2 separate regions of the Homo sapiens genome follow, and region 1 is linked to region 2. Evidence: promoter capture Hi-C in 16 types of primary human blood cells and fetal thymus (Javierre and others, 2016). All regions are on one chromosome and are shown on one strand. Each heading gives the region's core, a stretch centred on a gene start or on the middle of the fragment in contact. The rest is flanking DNA. Distances are from core to core; before and after follow the strand shown. Region 1 overlaps NTSR1 (neurotensin receptor 1). Region 2 holds the start of RBBP8NL (RBBP8 N-terminal like).

Evidence for each region. The method cuts DNA at HindIII sites, captures the fragments that hold promoters and counts their contacts. A CHiCAGO score of 5 or more calls a contact.
Region 1: a fragment that was not itself captured here is called in contact with the fragment with the promoter of RBBP8NL in region 2 in 1 of 17 cell types (M1 macrophages); the score reaches 5.8 in M1 macrophages.

What each region holds. Positions count from the first base shown.
Region 1 is chr20:62,756,570-62,760,254 of GRCh38, forward strand. It overlaps NTSR1 (neurotensin receptor 1), which reads left to right. Exons shown (of 4, transcript NM_002531.3): 3 at 1,697-1,787; 4 at 3,449-3,685. Among named protein-coding and RNA genes, the nearest start is that of LINC00659, 18 kb to the right of the region's middle. The HindIII fragment of the contact is 434 bases long and covers 2,219-2,652 here.
Region 2 is chr20:62,425,743-62,429,720 of GRCh38, forward strand. RBBP8NL (RBBP8 N-terminal like) reads right to left here and starts at 1,797. Exons shown (of 14, transcript NM_080833.3): 1 at 1,718-1,797. LOC105372710 (a long non-coding RNA gene) reads left to right here and starts at 2,088. Exons shown (of 4, transcript NR_187662.1): 1 at 2,088-2,231; 2 at 3,333-3,576. RefSeq lists an enhancer at 637-1,396 and a silencer at 1,011-1,305. The HindIII fragment of the contact is 11,585 bases long and covers 1-3,978 here.

The DNA.
Region 1 (3,685 bases), core at 1,186-3,685, 330 kb after region 2:
AAGAGAGCCTGGCTCTGGGCTCAGCCTTCCCTGCTCATGGGAACCAGCCAGGGCTTTGGACACGGAGCTCTCAGGGCTGGCGAAGCCCACAGCAGGGCAACGCCCATCCTATCGGAACCCTGAGGACCAGCCCCAGCTCAGGACGGCTGGCTTGCCAACATCCAAGGTGTGTCCTGGTCCCAGTGTGTGCCTGTTGTTTTAATAGTAGCCATCCTAATAGATTTGAGGTGGCATCTCGTTGTGGTTTTGATTTGCATTTCTCCAGTGATTTAAGATTAATGATTAATAACATCTTTCATGTGCTTGTTGACCATTTGTATCTTCTTTGGAGAAATGTCTGAGTCCTTTGCCCATTTGTGAATTGGATTGTTTGTTTTCATGTTGAGTTTTAGGAGTTATACTCTCAAGGTTAACTCATTATCAGATGTGATTTGCAAATATTTTCTCCTTTTTTGTGAGCTGACTTCCACTCTCCTGATGGCATCCTTTGATACACAGAAATTCAGTGTTTATGTTGTTCAATTTATCTACTTTTTTCTTTTGTGGCCTGTGCTTTTGGTGTCATACCCAAGAAATCATTGCCAAAATCAATGTTGTAAAGTAATTATGTTTTCTCCTAGGAGTTTTATGGTTTTAGTTCTTATGTTCAGGTCTTTAATCCACTTCAAGTCCATTTTTGTATATGGTGTGAGGGGAGGATCCACCTTCATACAAGTGGATGTCCCGTTTTCCTAACACCCTTTGTTGAATAGACTGTCCTTTCCCCACTGAATGGTCTTGGTGAAGATCACTTGACCATAAAGGTAAGGGTTCGTTTCTGAGATTTCTAGTCTATTCCCTTGGTCTACGTGTCTATCTTTATGCCAGCACCACACTGTAACTTTGTAGTAAGTTTTGAAATCAAGAAGTGTAAGACCTCCAACTTTATTTTCTTACAAGATTGTTTTGGCTGTCCGGGATCCTTTGAGATTTCATATGAATTTTAGCACAGATTTTTCTATTTCTGCCAAAAGCATTCTTGAAATTTGATACGGATTGCATTGAATCTGTAGAGTGCTTTGGGTAGTACTGACACCTTAACAATATTAAATCTTCCAATCCATGAACATGGGATGTCTCCCTGCATCTCCCTCAGACCACGTGTCTCCTTCTCTGAGGCCATATCTCTGTGTCTCTAAGCCCATGTCTCTGAGCCAGTGTCTACCTCCCTCAGCCCATGTCTCTCCCTCTCTGAGCCTGTGTCCTGTCTCTGAGCCTGTGTCCTGTCTCTGAGCTTATGCTCCCTCCCCAAGCCCACGTCTCTCCCTCTCTGAGCTTGTGTCTGGTCTCTGAGCCCATGTCTCCCCCACTGAGCCCACGCCTCTGTGCCTCAGGTGCAGTGGGTCTCTGAGCCCACGCCTCTGTGCCTCAGGTGCAGTGGGTCTCTGAGCCCACGTCTCTGTGCCTCAGGTGCAGTGGGTCTCTGAGCCCATGTCCTGTCTCTGAGCCCACGTCTCTGTGCCTCAGGTGCAGTGGGTCTCTGAGCCCATGTCTCTGTGCCTCAGGTGCAGTGGGTCTCTGAGCCCACGTCTCTGTGCCTCAGGTGCAGTGGGTCTCTGAGCCCACATCTGTGTGCCTCAGGTGCAGTGGGTCTCTGAGCCCACGCCTCTGTGCCTCAGGTGCAGTGGGTCTCTGAGCCCACGTCTCTGTGCCTCAGGTGCAGTGGTCATCGCCTTTGTGGTCTGCTGGCTGCCCTACCACGTGCGGCGCCTCATGTTCTGCTACATCTCGGATGAGCAGTGGACTCCGTGAGTACCGGGAACCAGGAAGTTGGGTGCTGGACAAGTAAGTGCTCCCAAAACAGATGGTGGGTGTGGCAGGCACTGCTGAGGGGATCCACTCAGGGCAGGGGTGTGGTGAGTCCCCCGGCGACCCCCTGGGCAGGGTTGTGCTGTGACTGGGGCCGGGAGAAGGCCATGGAGGGACAGGTTCAAGGCAGGGGCTATTCAGGCCAGACTGGTGCAGAGAAAGAAAGTTGGTCCTAAGAGAGATGGCCCAGGCAGTTTCCCGAAGGTGAAAGAGAGACATCCCTGGCTCTGCTGGGGACATGGTGGGGGTGTCACCTCCTCATATGGCAGCTGTCAGAGCCCCAAGGCCACCCAGGTTGGACCCACAGGGCTCAGCCTGGAGTTATACTCAGGGCTGTGACTTATCGCAGCAAGAGCACCAATACTGACAAAGCTTTGCTTATACAGCAAAGTCAGCAAAGGGAAAAGACACATGGAGTGGGGTCAGCGGAAGACCAGATGCAGCTTCCAGGGCCCCCTCCCAGAGGAGCCTCACAGGACGATATGGGGGCCGATCACAGGGGCACCCACTGCCTGGCAAAACCCCTACTGTTTGCACCAACAGTTCAGGGGCAGGGAGCCCTTCTCACCCAAAAATGGCAGAGCCTTCCCAAAATCCAAGGCCCCAGGCACCAGCCAGAGGCCAGCCTTGCCAGCTGGCCATCCTGAGATGGCAGCTTGGGGCCCACTTGTGAACCCTTTTCTGTGCAGTGGGGCTGCCAGATCCCAGAATAAAAGGTTCCTTCCAGTGACAACCACCAGGGAGGGCGCACCTACGACCAATGAGGAGGAGAAGGCACGGGGAACAGAGTGTGGCCCCTGCAAAAGCTTCTGAAACTCAGGGCTGACTGGTAGTAATTGAGCTGCCTGGTGAGGGAGTGAGATCACTGTGGGGGGAGGCAACAAGCTGAGGGCAAGGTGTGTGGCTGCTGGGGAGGTGTGGAGGGGGTTACTGCCCTGGCTGTTTGGTTAGGCCGGGACCAGCCAAGCCCTGGACCCTTGGATGCACAGAGCTGCGAAGGGCAATGCAGGCAGCTGCAAGGAGAGGCAGGGATGGACAAGCAGAGCCCACGCTCCACCTAAAGAAGCCCAGGCTGGGTGGGACACGGTGGCTCACGCCTGTAATCCCAGCACTTTGGGAGGCTGAGGTGGGTGGATCACGAGGTCAGGAGATCGAGACCATCCTGGCTAACACGGTGAAACCCCGTCTCTACCAAAAATACAAAAAATTAGCCGGGCGTGGTGGGGGGGTCCCTGTAGTCCCAGCTACTCGGGAGGCTGAGGCAGGAGAATGGTGTGAACCCGGGAGGTGGAGCTTGCAGTGAGCCGAGATCGCGCCACTGTACTCCAGCCTGGGAGACAGAGCGAGACTCCGTCTCAAAAAAAAAAAAAAAGCAGCAGCAGCCCAGGCTGGGCGGGAGCACGACGAGAACTTGCAGCTGCTCAGGAGAAGCCAGACCCTGGAGCTTGTTATGAAATGTCCCCAAACAACCATTCTCAAGGGGTGTTTTAATTAGCGTCTGAGCCACCACGTCCCTCAGCCGCTGTGGCCCCGGCTGTCACCCTGCCTTGGGGCCCTCAAGAGTTCTCTCTGGGATCTGAGCGCCTCTCTCTCCCCGCAGGTTCCTCTATGACTTCTACCACTACTTCTACATGGTGACCAACGCACTCTTCTACGTCAGCTCCACCATCAACCCCATCCTGTACAACCTCGTCTCTGCCAACTTCCGCCACATCTTCCTGGCCACACTGGCCTGCCTCTGCCCGGTGTGGCGGCGCAGGAGGAAGAGGCCAGCCTTCTCGAGGAAGGCCGACAGCGTGTCCAGCAACCACACCCTCTCCAGCAATGCCACCCGCGA
Region 2 (3,978 bases), core at 547-3,046:
CCCCCAGCAGGCTCTTTGGGGCAGGAGTGCGGAGCTGGACACTGGTACCCTCCGTCTCTGAGGCCTGGGCTGTCTGTATGTCCATCTGACTGACTGCCCACCTATCCAGGAGCAACGGTGATGGCCACAGCAGTAGCAGTGGCAGTGGCAGTGGCATAGCAGTGGCAGTGGCATAGCAGTGGCAGTGACAGTAGCAGTAGCAGTGGCAGTGGGAGTGGCATAGCAGTGGCAGTGGCAGTAGCAGTGGCAGTGGGAGTGGCAGTGGCAGTGGCAGCGGCAGTGGCATTAGCAGTGGCAGTGGCAGTGGTAGCAGTAGCAGTGGCAGTGGTGACAGTGGCAGTGGAAGTAGCAGCGGCAGCGGCAGTGGCAGTGGCATTAGCAGTGGCAGTGGCAGTGGTAGCAGTAGCAGTGGCAGTGGTGACAGTGGCAGTGGAAGCAGCGGCAGCGGCAGTGGCAGTGGCATTAGCAGTGGCAGTGGCAGTGGCTGCTGTTGATCACATACTGTTCTGTGTCAAGCACCACACCAGGCTTTTTCCCACTTGCATGGGCACTGAAACCATCCTGCAGCTTTGCTGAGGAAGCCAAGCTCAGAGTGGTGCCCTCTGCACCTTGACCCGCTTCTCCCCAAGGGATTCCCCTGCCCCTGTCCACCTCCTGGCTGCCCCTGTGGAACACCCACTGCATAGCTAGGTTGGGCACATGCATGTGGCCGGGGCCCACCTGGCCTTGGAGGAAGTGCTGATTGTCTCATTCTACAGGTTTGGACACTGAGGCTTGAAGCAGATCAGAGATGAGCAGGTGGAGCAAGATTTGGACCTGGACATGGCCTCAGAGTCTCCTCCCACCCTCTGTGGTAATGGGCAAAGCCTCTCCCATGGAGACTTCGGCCAGGTCGCTTGTCTGGCCGTGCCTCAGTTTCTGTGACTGTAGAACAGATGTTGGTGGTGAGCCCTGACCCAGGCTCCTGTGCACACACCGCCGCAGGGCCCCCGGGACAGCTGCACACGCATGTTGTGTGTGCACATGCACTCGTGTACCCCACACGCGCGTGCGCCCGTGCACTCGTGTGTACACATAAACAGAGGAGCCAGCCGAGGTGTCCCTGCAGCTCAGGCACAGCAGCCCTGCAACCTGACTCCCTCCCGGAGGTGGAGGTGGGCCGGGCTGCTCTCCTGCCCTGCCGGCTGGCTCCCTGAGGCCTGGCCCGTGGGGGAGGGGGTTGAGCAAGGCCCGCCTTTGTGGCTGCTTCCCCACAGACACAGCGGCAGAGGAGTCCCCTGCTCAGTGCCCAGCTGCGGGTGCTGCACCCCTGCACCACCCTCACCCCTGTGGCTGCGCCCGCTTATCCTCTTGTGAACCTGGATGGTGGGGCGGGACAGGCCCAGGGTGGAGGGCGAGGCCACCAGCCTGTCCCTGATGCCCCAAGCCCCTCAGCAGACCATGGACACTTCCTGGGCCCTGGTGCCAGACTAGGCCTGGCCTCTTTGCACCCAGCTCCTGCCAGGAACGCCCACTGAGCTCTCTCCGTTGCTAGGTCCCTGGACCAGGAGCAGCCTTGTGCCACCCCTTAGGGAAGACGTCCAGTCCCACCCACCCCCGCGGCTCTCCTCGCAGGAGTCCAAGCTGGGCCTCCAGCCTCCCTGGTGAGCACCCCAGCCAGGGATCCCAGCTCACCCGGCTACTTGGGTGGCCTGGCCCCGGGGTCCCGGGTACTCACATGGCTCCTGGCCCTGCCTCAACCTCTGTCGACCTCTGCGCGGAGTCCCCCACGCTCTTCACAGGGAGAGAGAAGTGAGCGGGCTGTGAACCTGCACAGGCAACAAGACAGGATTTTGGCCAAACCCGCTTGACAGGTTTTCGATTCTCCCAGCCAGGAGCAGAAAGGAGGCAGAGACTGCCCTGAGCCGCCAGGCGGGTTCTGCCATCTCGCAGAAAGTGGCCGGACAGGTTGGGTCTGAAGCCACATAGAGTTGGGATTGTTTCCTCATAATCACTGTGAGGCTGGGCTGCAGGAGCCAAGCTGGTTAGCACTGAGAATCCAGTTTGGTGCCTGTGACACGGAGGGCCCGGGCGGGGAAGGGTGGGGGGCTTGCAGGGGTGCCTGGGTCGGGGGCTGCAGGTGGGAGTGAGCAAATGTGCTGTCTCGCCACCTCGGGACAGGTGGTAGGGCCTCTGACACAGAGTGGTCCTTCCTGCTGTTCACAGCTCAGCTCACCGTGGGCTGACCATAGGTAGGTGACAGTCCCCTTTCTGGCCTCGGTTTCCCTGTCTGTAAATTGGGGATAATAAGCTCAAGAGCTGTCCCTGCCAGAACCCAGTGGACAGAAATCCAGCAGCTGCTATGGGAAGCGACCCGCCCAGCCTGCCCCGCCCTGCCTGGGGAAGCAGGCCTTCTGCTTGAGGGGGACTGGGCGCATGCTGGGCCTCTGGTCTGCGCAGTCTGCCCGGGGTCTGTGAGTGCTTGTGAGTGGGCTTCTCCAGTCTCCAGGTAGGCTGGGTGCCCCCGGCCAGGTGGAGCCCAGGGGGGCAAATAGGCTGGGGGCTGGCCTGGCCCCGGGTGGCACGGCCCAGGTGCTGGAGCAGCCTCACACTGTGGTCTCGTGTGTGTTCCCTGGACAGCAACACTGTGGCTGCGGGGTACAGCCCTGACCCCCTCATGCCTTGCCCCCTGTGTCCTACCCACGACCCCTCCCCACTCCCTCCTCCCCGCCTCCACCTCCGCCTCTGCCTCATCCTCAGCCTGTCTTAGCTCTGCACGGAAGCAGAGCGGGGGTTCCCGAGTCCTTGGGGCCATGATCCCCAGCGCACCCGAGTACCCCAGGAATGCACGGGGCTCAGAGGAGGAAGCCTGGGAGCCTGGCCTGTAGCCGCTGCCGCGAGGGGAGGACGGACTTCCTGCTCCCTGGCAGGGCCCCTGCTGGTGGCTGGTGGCCAGCTCTGGGTTTGGGATGAGGGCTGGGTCATCTCTGGCCCCACGATGCCCTCCCACTCAGGACCAGGCTCTTGGGAGGGGGTTGTGGTCAGCATGGGCCACTCCAGCTCTGGCTGGCCTGGGAACTTCGTGGAGGCCCCTCCTCCGGCCACCTCCCTGTTCCTGGCTGGGCCCTTTGTGAGTGGGGTCTGCTTGCTGCTGGCGTGTGTTTTGTGTGTGCCTGTGTGGGGACTGTGTGCACGTGTGTGTGTGTGTGTGTGTGGGGATACGAATGTGTGTGCATGTCTTACATGTGTGTGCCTGTGTGTGCATGTGTTGCACGTGTGTGTGTGCACATGTGTGCGTGGACATGTGTAGCTGCTTTGTGCTGTGGTCTGGATGTTTTTTGTGTCTACCCCAGATTCTCGTTGAAATCCTAACGCCCCAGGCAATGATGTTAGGAGGCGGGGCTTCTGGGAGATGGCAAGTTCGTGAGGCTGCAGCTCTGCTGGGGGATCAGTGTCCTTCTACAAGCGGCTCCAGGGAGGTCCCTTGCCCCTTCCACCATGTGAGGACCCGAGATGGTGCCGTCTATGAACCGGGAAGTGAGTCCTCTCCGGACGTGGAACAAGTTGGTGCCTTGATTTTGAACTTGCAGCCTCCAGGTATGAATGTGAGCTCTGGGCTCACTGCCTGTGGGGAGCCCTGCCTCACAAGGAGGGGTCCCTCTGCATCTGCCATGCATGGCTGTTTCAATCAAAGCTGCTGTCTAACACCACCGGCTCGACCTTGAGTTCCTCCCTGAGCAAAGCCAAGCGACCTCCTGGACTGAGCCAGTTTTCGTGCCTGCCTGCCCTGGCTCATTGGCCAGGGACCCCACCCCGCCATGTCCAGGCCTTGGTGATACAGGACAGAGGTGCCCGTGCAGGTTGTGCCTGTGGCTGGGTCCCCAGGGAGAAGGTGGCAACCCCAGGCCAGCAGCCTCCTACCCTGAACTCCAGGCAACATCGTCGGCCCCCTGGCACTGCACCTGCACTGTGGGCAGAGAAGGAGGGAAGGCTGGGAGA